Linked DNA regions of Homo sapiens: regions 2, 3, 4 and 5 are each linked to region 1. Evidence: promoter capture Hi-C in human tissues and cell types (Jung and others, 2019). All regions are on one chromosome and are shown on one strand. The core of a region is centred on a gene start or on the middle of the fragment in contact, and the rest is flanking DNA. Distances in the headings are between cores, read along the strand shown. Region 1 holds the start of APEH (acylaminoacyl-peptide hydrolase). Region 2 holds the start of USP19 (ubiquitin specific peptidase 19). Region 3 overlaps QRICH1 (glutamine rich 1). Region 4 holds the start of P4HTM (prolyl 4-hydroxylase, transmembrane). Region 5 overlaps LOC124909377 (a long non-coding RNA gene).

The links. The method cuts DNA at HindIII sites, captures the fragments that hold promoters and counts their contacts. A contact is called where the count stands out against the background at its distance.
Region 2: a contact is called between the fragment with the promoter of USP19 here and the fragment with the promoter of APEH in region 1, in 1 of the 25 tissues and cell types used here (spleen).
Region 3: a contact is called between a fragment that was not itself captured here and the fragment with the promoter of APEH in region 1, in 1 of the 25 tissues and cell types used here (bladder).
Region 4: the fragment with the promoter of P4HTM here is called in contact with the fragment with the promoter of APEH in region 1 in 1 of the 25 tissues and cell types used here (aorta).
Region 5: a fragment that was not itself captured here is called in contact with the fragment with the promoter of APEH in region 1 in 3 of the 25 tissues and cell types used here (dorsolateral prefrontal cortex, lymphoblastoid cells and mesenchymal stem cells).

Annotation. Positions count from the first base shown.
Region 1 is chr3:49,672,917-49,675,616 of GRCh38, forward strand. It overlaps APEH (acylaminoacyl-peptide hydrolase), which reads left to right and starts at 1,435. Exons shown (of 22, transcript NM_001640.4): 1 at 1,435-1,497; 2 at 1,573-1,705; 3 at 2,267-2,393. The coding sequence starts at 1,486. It also overlaps a transcript of BSN not described here. RefSeq lists a silencer at 1,120-1,729. The HindIII fragment of the contact is 11,571 bases long and covers 1-2,700 here.
Region 2 is chr3:49,119,543-49,122,242 of GRCh38, forward strand. USP19 (ubiquitin specific peptidase 19) reads right to left here and starts at 1,281. Exons shown (of 27, transcript NM_001199161.2): 1 at 1,214-1,281. LAMB2 (laminin subunit beta 2) reads right to left here. Exons shown (of 32, transcript NM_002292.4): 28 at 2,621-2,700; 29 at 2,402-2,543; 30 at 2,142-2,318; 31 at 1,891-2,050; 32 at 1,572-1,820. The coding sequence ends at 1,684. RefSeq lists enhancers at 580-1,569, 1,570-2,558 and a silencer at 1,142-1,461. The HindIII fragment of the contact is 6,360 bases long and covers 1-1,782 here.
Region 3 is chr3:49,083,390-49,086,089 of GRCh38, forward strand. All of the region lies in intron 1 of QRICH1 (glutamine rich 1), which reads right to left. It also overlaps the pseudogene RN7SL182P. Among named protein-coding and RNA genes, the nearest start is that of QRICH1, 9.3 kb to the right of the region's middle. The HindIII fragment of the contact is 6,032 bases long and covers 1-2,700 here.
Region 4 is chr3:48,988,859-48,991,558 of GRCh38, forward strand. It overlaps P4HTM (prolyl 4-hydroxylase, transmembrane), which reads left to right and starts at 1,383. Exons shown (of 9, transcript NM_177939.3): 1 at 1,383-1,752; 2 at 1,975-2,056. The coding sequence starts at 1,399. It overlaps LOC124909376 (a long non-coding RNA gene), which reads right to left and starts at 1,014. Exons shown (of 2, transcript XR_007095903.1): 1 at 690-1,014. RefSeq lists enhancers at 103-666, 667-1,229, 977-1,136, 1,794-2,355 and a silencer at 1,247-1,626. The HindIII fragment of the contact is 19,056 bases long and covers 1-2,700 here.
Region 5 is chr3:49,136,753-49,139,452 of GRCh38, forward strand. All of the region lies in intron 1 of LOC124909377 (a long non-coding RNA gene), which reads left to right. Among named protein-coding and RNA genes, the nearest start is that of LAMB2, 5.1 kb to the left of the region's middle. The HindIII fragment of the contact is 9,716 bases long and covers 1-2,700 here.

The sequences.
Region 1 (2,700 bases), core at 185-2,684:
CTACAGGCGCCTGCCACCATGCCCAGCTAATTTTTTGTATTTTTAGTAGAGACAGGGTTTCACCGTGTTAGCCAGGATGGTCTCGATCTCCTGACCTCGTGATCCGCCCGCCTCGGCCTTCCAAAGTGCAGGGATTACAGGCGTGAGCCACCGCGCCCGGCCGGCCGGGACTTTTTTTTTTTTTTTTTTTTTTTTTTTTACTTAACTAGTTATCTTGAGTAAGTAATGATGCGGCTGATGGGAAAGGGGAAGCTACAGGCCAGACAAGTGGACTCTCAATCACAAGCACGCCATGGAGCAGGGAGCCAGGGCCCTGAATGTGGAAGACCAGCCAGACTCAGGTATATGGAGGGAACATCCTTACTGTCCAGCCTCTCCTGATCTCTGTTGGCACCTTAGCCCAGCCAATCCTGTACCACGTGCACAGGGAACCTGCCTGCCTAGGTTTTTTCCACAGGAAGCTCCCTGGTCCTGGGTGGAGTCTGAGCCCACCAGGCCTTTCACACCCAAGAGCTCAGGGTGAGGCCTGGGGAGGAAGGCAGGGACCCACCAGCTCACGGTCCCCAACAAGGTGCCACTGAGAAGGCTGGGTAAAGGCTGCGGGGATAGATAGCTCTTGCGGCAGGCCTGGCGACTGATAAGTCCGGGCAGCACCCTAAGAGTTGGCACCCGCCCCTCTGCCCCGCACCCCAGGGCTTTGCTTCGCGCCCTCCGCCCGGACCCTGGCCCTTCTCTTCTTCGTCTGCGTGGAACTCCCTCCAGGGCAGGGCCTGGCACTGTGTAGTGAATGTCGGCCTCGTGGTGGACCCGAAGGAACCCTACAGTCAGCCCCAGAGCCGCGGGAGATCCACGCTGCGGCCGGCTCCGCCCCGCCCAACCCTCACCCTCACGCTCACGCTCACGCTCACGCTCACGCTCACGCTCACAGGCTCCCGGCTCCACATTCCTCGCAGGGCTCCAATCCGGACCCGCCCGCCTTGCCCTTCATCCTCAAAGACTCATTGGTCCCATTCCCCTCGGGCCCCGCCCTTCGCGTGCTTGGGCCATGCCCGTCCGACCGCGCTGCTTCCGCCTTGCAGCACCCCCTCAACCCCTTCTCTCGTAGGCCCTTCTACCCTCCCCGAAGCCGGGCTCCCGGGTTCCGCTTCCACAGGGCCGCCCCCTCTCCTCCGAGATCCAACGCCTCGCCCCTCGGTAAGAGGCCCAGGACTCAGCCCACGGCCCCGCCCCCCACTTGGCTAGTCCGCCCCTGGCGAGACCCCTGCTCTCACCCACCCAGGACTTCTCGCTCCCAGGCCGGGTCCTCTCACCGTCAAGGCCCGCCCCCTGCCAACGGTCCTCACCCATTAGCCGAAGGCCCCGCCCCTCACAGATTGCCGCAGGGCAGGGGCGGAGACAGCCCGGGCCGTCCCAGGCTCCGCCCCCGGAAGCCTCACTTCCGGGCGCGAGCACGCCCCGCCTCGCCCCGGCGGCAGAGAGGAGACTATGGAACGTCAGGTGAGGGCTCGGCCCGCGGTCCCCGTGGTCCCTGCAGCCCGGGCCGGGCCTGACCCTGGTGTGTCCCCTGCGCAGGTGCTGCTGAGCGAGCCCGAGGAGGCGGCGGCTCTGTATCGGGGCCTTAGCCGCCAGCCCGCGCTGAGCGCCGCCTGCCTGGGCCCGGAGGTCACCACGCAGTACGGCGGCCAATACCGGACGGTGCACACTGGTGTGTGTGCGAAGGGGAACTGGCTGGCGACGGGGTCGCGCACTGGGGTGGGAAGGAAGGGGGTGTGGAGGGCTCGCTGCTTGACAGTGCGTAAGGGTATATAGGGAGCCGGCCTGGACTTGGAGGTTACACTCCCACAGGTCCCTGCACACAGGTGTGTGGAGGGGGGGAGGGGGCGTGCGGGGCGTTATCGAATGGCGGCCATGAGTGCACGAGATGACGGCGTAGGGGTAGAAGTCAAACCTGGGCTCAGGGCGTGGACCTTGTAGGGCTCTCCACCAACACGCCATCCCATACACATGCCAGGCTGCCCTCAAGATTCCAGGGTGGATGCTGGGGTTACTAGGGGGTTCTCTCAAAGAGGCTGTCAGCTCAGGCTCTGGAGGCCTGGACTAGGGTTGTGGCCAAGTGTTGTCCAGCCTGCAGCCAGGGTGTCAGTGTCTGGAGACAGATTGAGAGATTGGGGAAGATAGATCTAGGCCTTCCTGGGTCAGGTGGGGCTGGGGGCAGTAGCCAGGAGTAGCCAAGACAAGGTGAGCAGTCTCATGCCTCCCCTCACAGAGTGGACCCAGAGGGACCTGGAACGCATGGAGAACATTCGATTCTGCCGCCAATACCTGGTGTTCCATGACGGGGACTCAGTGGTGTTTGCAGGACCTGCAGGCAACAGTGTGGAGACCCGGGGGGAGTAAGTTTGAGGGAGGAAGCTTGTGGGCAAGGCCACAGCCGTCCGCAATGCAAGCCTTTTATGAATGCTCACCATGTGCCTAGAAGGGAGGCCAGCAGCCAGGTTCTTGCCCCCTTGGGAGCTCATTCAGTTTCTGGTGACATGGCCTGATAAGCACTGGAAGCTTGCTCCAAACTCAGCCTGGACTAGAGCCCATGGTGGCCTGGGGAGTTGCAGAGAGTAGAGTCTCTGCCTCAGGGAGGAAAGGCAAGGTGGGGCTAGAGGTGCTCCAGAAGCTGGTGTGGGGCCAGAGCCTCAAGAATCTCTC
Region 2 (2,700 bases), core at 31-2,530, 550 kb before region 1:
AGTCATGGCCTGGGACCAGGCTACTCCACCAATCTGGAGAGGAGCCACGGCTCCAGCCCACAGGGCTGGCACTCCGAGCAGGGTGCTCACTTTTCCTTCACTCTCACTGGCTGCTTAGTCACCACTGGAGAAATAGAAGGTGGAGGAGGAAGGCAGGACAGGAGACAAGCCGCAGGAGAACCAGGCTCTGTGGCTGTAAACAGGCTCAACCCAGGTTCTACCATTGCCCAGAAAAAGTCCTGGGGCTAAGGCACTCCACCTGCCTCCTGCCAGCTCCCACCCTTGGCAAGAACCTGCTCCTATGTACTGCTTGGTCCTTCTTCATTTCAAGAGAAAGTCCTCTCCCCAGCTGCTGTCCCAAGCAGAAAGGGACTGAAAAGTGTATCTAGATGTCACGCTACCTCTTCAGCAGCAACCCTGCTCCAGTACTAAGGCAGGATGGGCATCCAGTTTGAGACTGGAACAGAAATTATCACCTTCCTTCCCAGATGCCTTCACTCATGAGCTCTGAGCCACAAGGACCACTACAGTTTCCCACAGACCCACCAGTGGATTCTGGACTGTTTCCTCCTCCAAAATGAAGGTCTTGAAACTAGATACTGAGATGAGGCTGGGGAGGACCACAGATCCAGGACTCCTGGCAGCCTCAAGCCTGGCCTGAACCAGTAGCAGGACAGATAATGACTAGTCTGTGTTCCCCTAAGTGTGTAAAGGAGGAAGGAGGGATGGCAGGATACCCTTCTACAGGTCAGATGTGGTACTGGTGGGCTGGATCTTTAATGACACCTGCCACCGGCGCCTCCTTCTTGCACCCAGGCCCCAGCCGAAGGTCGCGTCCCTCCCCCATGCCCCAGGGACGTCGAGGCGGGTAAGGGGCTGTTTAGAGACCCGAGCCGGCCTGAAATGGCAGCGCGGGGTTACTGACCACAGATCAGCGCCCCGGTCGAGCTGCGACCCAGCTTCAGCCTCTGAACCCCGAGCCCGCCACCACCTCTCCCACGAAGTTGCCCTCGCTGGCCGCCAGTCCTCTCCCAGGTGGGAGGCTGGCCACAGGCATAGCGTAACGGCCCTGCCGGCATCAGTGGGCTGGCACGCTGCGGGGCACTAGGGGTAGGGACTGGCACGGCCCGTGACCTTGAACAGGCCGCCGCGGCCGCGCGTTGCGGCCTCCCCGCTGCGGCCAAGCCAGCGAGTTGCAGCCTGCTCCACTCACCGAGCGAGACCGCCGCAGCCAGCCCTCTTCGGGCCCTGGCAACCCGCTCTCCGTTCCGGTTCCGGCGCAGGTCGGTTCCGGTTCCGGCGCGCCCCTCCCCCGTCCCGGCGCCGCCGCCACCGCCTTAGCGGCTTGTTTTGTTTCGACTTCTAGCTAAGGCCGAGGGAGGCGGAGCGCCAAGCTGGTGACGCACTTCCGGCGGGAATGGGCTCGGAGCGACCCGCAGCTCCGGGGCGGGCCCGAGCGGAAGGAGGCGGTGCTCGGGTGGCTTAGCGGTGCATGGGTTCTGCTGGGGGCAACCTCGAGGTTCCCCTGGAGACTCCCCCGCCCGCCCCAAATCAGAGTCCAGACAACACAGTGGGGGTTCACACTGGTTTATTGGGGGCCCTGCCGGGCCAAGAGCTCTTCAGTGCATAGGCAGACATGCATGTGGGGCAGTGCTAGGAACTGGGGTAGGCCTTGGGCAGGGGTCACTGGCAGGTGTTGTAGATCTGCACCTGCAAGTTGATGGCTTGAAGCACGCTGCGCATCCTGGCCTCCAACCCGTCCAACTGGGCTGCCTTACTCTCCAGTGCCCGCTCATTTTCCTCATAGGTGCCTTCCAATTCTAGGAAGGGCAGGTGTCAGTTTAGGGGGGGTTTCCCGCAGTCTTGTGTCTCTGGTGCCCCATTTCTTACCCTGTAGCCGCTGCAGCTTGTCCTGAGCGGCTTGCAACAGGTCCCGAGCCTCATCCCGCAGTTGTTCTGCCCTTGCCTGTGCAGCCAGCACACCTTGGGCCTTGCGCTCAGCTAGGGCCTTCACCGTCTGGTACTGATCACCCAGAGGACCGCGTAGCAGCTGCAGATGTAGAGGGTTAGGTTAGCGTGGTAGCTCAGTGGAGGCCCATCTTCCACCCCTACCTTCTCCAGCTGGCTCTGCCTCAACCCACCTGCTCAGCCTCCTGGGCACGACCCTGGGCACTGCCTGCCGTTTCTTCTGCTGTAGAGGCTGCCAGACTATTTCCTGCCCGTTTCAATTTCAGAGCCTCCAGGAGAGCATCCAACTGCCGAGCCCTTTCACCTGCAGAGCTCAGTGCCCGCTCTGCACCTGCCATCCTCTCCTGTACCTGCCATGGGTGAGCCAAAGGTTACACAGATCTACGGTTCATGCCCATAACCTTGTCCCACTGATGTCCTAGGAAGACCTCACCTGGTACAGGGTCTGCTCTGTGTCCCGTGTGTCAGCCACTGCCCCCCGGATGGCACCCTGGGCAATACCCTGTGCCCGCTGGGCCTCCTCCAGTGCTGCCTGTACTGTCTCTGCCTTCTGTTTCTCATCCTCAGCCCAGCTCCTGGGGAGAAGGGGGAATCAGAACCTGGAGGTATCAAAACCAGGTGTCAGGGATAGGGGCCAGGGATGGGGTCAGACCTTGCCCGCCGTGCATCCTGCAGTAGCTGCTCGGCACGACGCACATCTCCTACAGTACGTGCCAGGATCGCATCCACATC
Region 3 (2,700 bases), core at 18-2,517, 590 kb before region 1:
GAATCACCAGGTTGCCTAAAGAGGGGTGAACCACCCCAGGTTGGAAATGGGGCAGGTCAAAACTTCCATACTGCAGTAGTAGAATCCTGTCTGTGGATAGCCACAGCACTCCAACCTGGGCACCACAGTGAGATCCCATCTCTTAGAAATAATAGTAATAATTTAAAAGACAAACAAGCTTGAGGTAGGAAAAATTCCATAAAACCATTAGAAAATATCAATACTAAGCTTGGCATGGTGGTTCTCGCCTGTAGTCCCAGCTACTTGGGAGGCCGAGGCAGGAGGATAGGATGGCTTGATCCCAGCAGTTTGAGCCTGCAATGAGCTATGATCATGCCACTGCACTCCAGCTTGGGTGACAGAGTGAGACTCCATCTCAAAAAAAAAAAATTAGCCAGGTGTGGTGCTGCATACCTGTAGTCCCAGCTACTTGGGAGGCTGAGGCAGGAGAATCGCTTGAACCCAGGAGGCACAATCTTGGCTCACTGCAACCTCCGTGCCCCCCAGGTTCAAGCGATTCTCCTGCCTCAGCCTCCCGAGTAGCTAGGATTACAGGCACCTGCCACCGTGCCTGGCTAATTTTTGTATTTTTAGTAGAGGCAGGGTTTCACCATCTTGGCCAAGCTGGTCTTGAACTCCTAAACTCATGATCCACCCGCCTCAGCCTCCCAAAGTGCTGGGATTACAGGTATGAGCCACCGCACCCGGCCCACATCCGGCTAATTTTTATATTTTTAGTAGAGATGAGGTTTTGCCATGTTGGCCAGGCTGGTCTCGAACTCTTAACCTCAGGTAATCCACTCGCTTCCACCTTCCAAAGTGCTGGGATTACAGGCATGAGCAACCACACCCAGCCTAAATTCTTTTTTATTTTTATTTTTATTGAGACACAGTGTTGCTCTGTCGCCCAGGCTGGAGCGTAGTGGCACGATCCTGGCTCACTGAAACCTCCGCCTCCTAGGTTCAAGCAATTCTCCTGCCTCAGCCTCCAAAGTGGCTGGGATTACGGGCACCCGCCACCATGCCCAGCTAATTTTTGTATTTTAGTAGAGACGGGATTTCGCCATGTTGGTCAGGATGTACTCAAACTCCTGACCTCAAGCGATCCACAGCATCGGTCTCCCAAAGTGCTAGGATTACAGGCGTGAGCCATCACATCCAGCCAAGATTGTGAGACCAGCCTGGCCAACATGGTGAAACCCCATCTCCACTAAAAATACAAAAACTAACAGGGCATGGTGGCAGCCACCCGTAATCCCAGCTACTCTAGAGGCTGAGGCAGGAGAATTGCTTGAATCCGGGAGGCGGAGGTTGTAGTGAGCTGAGACTGCGCCACTGCACTTCAGCCTGGGGAAAGAGTGAGACTCCACCTCAAAAAATGATAAAAAGGAATGCTAACAGTAGTTATGCCTAGATGATGGAACCACAGAGTAATTAAGTTTCTTCTGTTAAACACTCTTCTGAATTTTCCACAAGTGGTATTAATCTAAGGCTCACGCCTGTAATCCCAGCACTTTCCGAGGCAGGCAGATCACCAGATCAGGAGATCGAGACCATCCTGGCTATCACGGTGAAACCCCGTCTCTACTAAAAATACAAAAAAATTAGCCGGGTGTGGTGTTGGGCGCCTGTAGTCCCAGCTACTCGGGAGGCTGAGGCAGGAGAATGGTGTGAATCTGGGAGGTGGAGCTTGCAGTGAGCCAAGATCGTGCCACTGCACTCCAGCCTGGGCGACAGAGCAAGACTCCGTCTCAAAAAAAAAAAAATCATCTTTTTCTACACAGTGGCTATAGTGTAGTAATGGTAAGACACATAATTCTGGCTGATCATAGTATGATTTTCTTTCAAAATCTGAAAGAAACTAAACCGGCCGAAAGAGGTGGCTCATGCCTGTAATCCCAGCATTTTGGGAGGCCGAGGCAGGCGGATCACCAGGTCAGGAGATCGAGACCATCCTGGCTATCACGGTGAAACCCCATCTCTACTAAAAATACAAGTGGTTATAGTGTAGTAATGGTAACAGACACGTAATTCTGGTTGATCATAGTACGATTTTCTTTCAAAATCTGAAAGAAACTAAACCTGCCGAACGAGGTGGCTCATACCTGTAATCCCAGCACTTTGGGAGGCCGAGGTGGGTGGATCACCTGAGGTCAGTAGTTTGAGACCAGCCTGACCAACATGATGAAACCCCGCCTCTACTAAAAATACAAAAAAAATTAGCCAGGTGTGGTGACACGTGCCTGTAATCCCAGCTACTCGGAAGGCTGAGACAGGAGAATCGCTTGAACCTGGGAGGTGGAGGTTGCAGTGAGCCAAGACCATGCCACTGCACTCCGGCCTGGGCAACAAGGGCAAAACTCCATCTCAAAAAAAAAAAAAAGAAAAAGAAACTAAACCATAAAATACCAAAAACTTGTACAAAATAATGAAGACTTAACTTCAAGATGCTGCACATAAGACACAAAAGTTGAGCCTTCGTAATAAAGAGAAATGGAGAAACTTCTAAAAGAGACAAAAGATTCTTAATTAGCTCCAAGTAAAAGACTTAGTAAGAAGCAATAAAGAAATTAATTAAAGTATTTCTGAAAAACATGCAGCCATGAGGATATCTGAGTGTTCCCAATTTCTGGGACTCTGATGAGACTAATAATGAAAAAAGAAAATACTCTAATGCTCTTGGGGTGTATGAGGTCTGTA
Region 4 (2,700 bases), core at 133-2,632, 680 kb before region 1:
GGCGACAGAGCGAGACTCTGTATCAAAAAAAAAAAAAAAATTATAATTAAAAAATTAAAACTAAATAATAATAAATAAAAATACAAAAAAAAAAATTGGCCCGCCATGGTGGCGCATGCCAGCTACTTGGTAGGCTGAGGCAGGAGAATTGCTTGAACCCGGAAGGCAGAGGTTGCAGTGAGCCAAGATCGCGCCACTGCACTCCAGCCTGGGCGACAGAGTGAGACTCCGTCACACACACACAAAAAATCTTAGAAGAAAGAGGTGGGCCTGCCCTTGGAGCCCCTGGCCTGCCTTGACTTGAGGGGACTAGAAAATGCAGACTATGCTTTGCTATGGGGAAGGGAGAGGAGATGGGAGTAGAGGTAGTGGGGGTCTTAACCAGGGTAGGGAGAAACCACCAGTGTGACCTGCCTTAAAAGTGTTGCTCTTGCCTGCAAGTCCACCTCGGGGAGGGGGGTCAGCTTCTGCCCTGAGGGCGTGTAGTAATCTCTTCCTGAGGATAACCAGCTCTAGAAGAGCAGGGATGCCTTGGCACTTGACCACTGGTAGGTATGTCCTCCCCCCACCCCCGTTTTTGGTGATAATCTGTTTAATTTTTCTCTGAGGTAATGGTGTCTCAGTTATGGAAGAGTCCCTTCCCGCCTCTTCACACGTGCCAGCTTTGATGCAAGGAGTGTTCCATATACCTGAGCACTGGTTCATTCCTGCGGGCTGCCATGGGGGGCTCACTTTCCTGATGCCAGGGCTCCTCCAGGATGCCCCCTCTGACGGCCTATGAAACCTTGCACATCAGGCAGCTTCTTCCTAAGGCCTGCCTGACTCCGGCGAGACTTCCCGGGAGATCCGGACCGACCGCGGAACCGAGCTCCAAGAATGCCTGCGAGGAGGCTGTGGGTCCTACCCTATCGCCGCTTACGCAGTCCCAGCCTCCGCGGCGCCCCCAAATGCCGCACTGTTGAGTCATCTCAGCGCTGCCTCCTCCGCGCTGCGCTCCCCACCCCCGCTCCTGGAGCAAGAAGATGCAGACGATACTTTTCCCGGAGGCAAGAGGGCGTCTTCACGCAGGCACCGAGAAGCTCCCACTAGTGTATGCCTTAATGGTGCCGCTCTTGTCCGCGTCTACGCTTGGGACCTTGGCTTCTGACTTGGAGAGTGTACAGCTCTGCCCGACGGCAACCCAGCTTGGGAAGAGAAGCCCCAGCGTGGGCTGGGGCTCAAGGCGCAGGAAGGCCGAGCCCGGCGCGGACGCAGGCGGCTCCGGGCGGGCTCAGCACCCCCAGGCACCGTCTCCTAGTGACCGCGGCGCTCGCGGGCCTGGCGGCCGTTGTCCGGGCGACTGCGCAGCGCGGGCACCCCCGCGGCCCCTCCCCTGGGCGCGCGCGCGACCTGGGTGCCATGGCGGCAGCGGCGGTGACAGGCCAGCGGCCTGAGACCGCGGCGGCCGAGGAGGCCTCGAGGCCGCAGTGGGCGCCGCCAGACCACTGCCAGGCTCAGGCGGCGGCCGGGCTGGGCGACGGCGAGGACGCACCGGTGCGTCCGCTGTGCAAGCCCCGCGGCATCTGCTCGCGCGCCTACTTCCTGGTGCTGATGGTGTTCGTGCACCTGTACCTGGGTAACGTGCTGGCGCTGCTGCTCTTCGTGCACTACAGCAACGGCGACGAAAGCAGCGATCCCGGGCCCCAACACCGTGCCCAGGGCCCCGGGCCCGAGCCCACCTTAGGTCCCCTCACCCGGCTGGAGGGCATCAAGGTGAGGACCTCCCTGCCCCGCCGCGCTCCAGGCCCTGCACGGCTGAGCCCGAGAGGACCGGCGCTCAGCCCGGGTCCCCACGCTGCCCCCGGCGCTGCTCTGCGTCGGTCCCGCGCGCTCCCACTCACTCGCCTGCTGTCGCTCTCCGGGCCGGGGCGACTTGGCCCTTCTTGGGCAGCGCGGTCTGGCGCCCCAGCTGCCCGCTGTGCGCCTTTTCCTTAGGTGGGGCACGAGCGTAAGGTCCAGCTGGTCACCGACAGGGATCACTTCATCCGAACCCTCAGCCTCAAGCCGCTGCTCTTCGGTAAGTCCGCCAGATACTCCTGGGAAGGGCCAGGGGCTGCGGTTTGGTGGCCACCTTGAGGCTCGTTGTGACCACGTGACCTCTATTTTGAAAATGGCTGCTTCAGAGCAGCCCTTCCAGAGGATTACCAAAGTGAAGGACCTTCCCCGTCCTCGAAATAGGGTAACACTCCCTCTTATCCCAACTCCCTGCAGTCCATTCTTCCATCACAGGGCTGGCAGGGTGAGCCTGAGGCTGGTGTCTAAACGTTTCATTGCACCTGTCTTCCGTGCCACCATTAATTCTGTCACCTTCTAGAACTGGGAGGAAGGTGGGAGACTGATAACCAGCTTTCTGCCGACCTCAGGACCTCTGGGGAAAATCCCACTGCCGAAGTGGGCCTTGTGGTCTGATGAGAAGCAGGCCGTCCAAATGTAGATAAACTGGTACCCCCCCAGCCTCCTCCACTGGAGTACCAGTCAGAGGCTCAGCTTTTGCTGCCAGCACTCTGAGATTCTTCTTAAGGTGAAGTCTTTGTTCAGCCATCATGGGCAAAGCTTTCTAGGGTGACTCCAGTTGGAGCCACAACATAGCTCATCGTTTCTGAGCTCTAGTTATGTGCTTGCCTTCATATGATTATTTCATTTAATTCCTGCAACCCCTCT
Region 5 (2,700 bases), core at 145-2,644, 540 kb before region 1:
TGACAGAGCGAGACTCTGTCTCTAAAAAAAATAAAAAATAAAATGATAATAAAAAAAGGGTAATCCCAGCACTTTGGGAGGCCAAGGCAGGCAGATTACAAGGTCAGGAGTTTGAGACCAGCCTGGCCAATGTAGTGAAAACTCATCTCTACTAAAAATAACAAAAATTAGCTGGATGTGGTGGCGGGTGCCTGTAATCCCAGCTACTCAGAAGGCTGAGGCAGGAGAATCGCTTGAACCCAGGAGGTGGCGGTTGTGGTGAGCCGAGATCACGCCACTGCACTCCAGCCTGGGTGACAGAGCGAGACTCTCCCTCTCAAAAATAATAATAATAATACTAAAATAAAAAGAGCCAATTGTTAAATTTTCAGGAATTTTGCAAATAAGTTGTCAAATGGTATGGACTGAAATCAATCATGATAGCATTACTTACATCATGGATATTGACAAATGCTAAAAATCAGTTTCCCCTGACTCACAGCCAGTTGTTAAAAATTTATCTACACACATGGCCAGATGCGGTGGCTCACGCCTGTAATCCCAGCACTTTGGGAGGCGAAGGCGGGTGGATCATGAGGTCAGGAGTTCAAGACCAGCCTGGCCAAGATGGTGAAACCCCGTCTCTACTAAAAATACAAAAAAAAATTACAGTGTGCCTGTAATCCCAGCTACTTGGGAGGCTGAGGTGGGAGAATCGCTTGAACCCGGGGGGCGCAGGTTGCAGTGAGCCGAGATTGCACCACTGCACTCCAGCCTGGGTGACAGAGCAAGACTCCCTCTCAAAAAAAAAAAAAAAATTTACGCACACACTAGTGTTCCCACTTGACCCCTGGTCAGCCCTGATGAATATTCCTCATTCTGGAAGGAGTATCATGATAGTGTCCTGCATACCCTATTAACCCTGCCCTTGGCTGTGAACAGACATGCAACAAGCAGATATGTACCCATGAGGAAGCGCTGGATGATCTGCACGGCTGCTTGCATGTGGGTCATGGCAGTCATGCCCCAAGGTCCCCTTTCCCAATACCATGTCTCCTGTGCCTGGATTCCTGTGGAGCTTGCTATGGCCTGGATTTGCTGCAGCTGGTGGGCGTGGGTCAGATGTGGAATATGTTGCCTACAACACCATGTCCAAGCCATGGTTTCCTGTGACTCCCCCATGGCTCCCACCCACAGTCCCCCTGGCTGTGTACCTGTTGTTGATGCTGCTCCAAGGCTGTGACTCTATGTCCAGGCTATGGGAGGAGTTGTGGAAGGCAACAAGAGCCCACTGAACAGTGGGCAGGGTCCCAGGTTGGAGGGAGCAGCCTGTGCCTGCTACAGTACCCAATCTAGGACCTGCAGGTGTCCACCCTGGCCCCTAACACCCCCACCAGGCATCCCCTAGCATAGGGTGGCCACCTCTTGGGCCACAGCTTCCAGCTGCAGTGGGAGCAGAGCCAGGAGTTGGTCTCAGAAGGTGAAGCAGGTGGGACAGGAGGTGCAGTGTGGGAAGGCACCTCTGGAGCCATGAGCACATGCCTGGCACCTCAGCCCTAAGATGCCCTCTCTGAAGAAGCAGGTGCCCATGTGTGAATCACAGCTGGGCAAGATGGAGCCCTGTGGGTCACAGGCACAGGCTGCAGAGGAGAGATAGGGTCAGGGTAGAGAGCAGATGACACTAGCTCTAGCCTTACCTTCGAGAGACCTGAAGGATGGGCCAGGTGCAGTGACTCACACCTGTAACCCCACCACTTTGGGAGGCTGAGGCAGGAGGATCACTTGAGCTCAGGAGTTTGAGACCAGCCTGAGCAACATAGGGAGATCCTGTCTCTACAAAAAAATTTAAAAATTAGCCAGGTGTGGCGGCGTGTGCTGTAGTCTCAGCTACTCAGCAGGATGAGGTGGGAGGATCACTTGAACCTGGGAGGTTGAGGCTGTAGTGAGCTAAGATCATGCCACTGTACTCCAGCCCAGGTGACAGAGTGAGACCCTATTTCTTTTCCTTTTTTTTTTTTTGTGAGACAGAGTCTCGCTCTGTAAGTGTAGTGGTGCGATCTCGTCTCACTGCAACCTTCACCTCCCAGGTTCAAGCAATTCTCCTGCCTCAGCCTCCTGAGCAGCTGTGACTACAGGCAACCGCCAACATGCCTGGCTAATTTTTTTTTTTTTGTATTTTTAGTAGAGACGGGGTTTCACCATATTGGCTAGGCTGGTCTTAAACTCCTGACCTCATGATCTACCCGCCTCGGCCTCCCAAAGTGTTGGGATTACAGGCGTGAGCCACTGTGCCTGACCCATGAGACCCTATTTCTGAAAAAATAATAGGTCTGTGGGAGGCTAAGGTGGGTGGATCACTTGAGCTCAGGAGTTCAAGACCAGCCTGGGCAACATGGAAAAACCCCATCTCTACAAAAAATACAAAAATTAGCTGGACATGGTGGGGCACACCTGTGGTCCCAGCTCCTCAGGAGATAAGGCGGGAGGATCCCTTGAGCCTGGAAGGTTGAGACTGCAATGAGCCAAGATTGTGCCACTGCACTCCAGCTTGGGTGACAGAGTGAGAGCCCGTCTCAAAAAAAAATGTCTGAAGGGGCTGAGCACGGTGGCTCACGCCTGTAATCCCAGCACTTTGGGAGGCTGAGGCGGGCAGATCACGAGGTTAGGAGATTGAGACCATCCTGGCTAACATGGTGAAATCCCGTCTCTATTAAAAATACA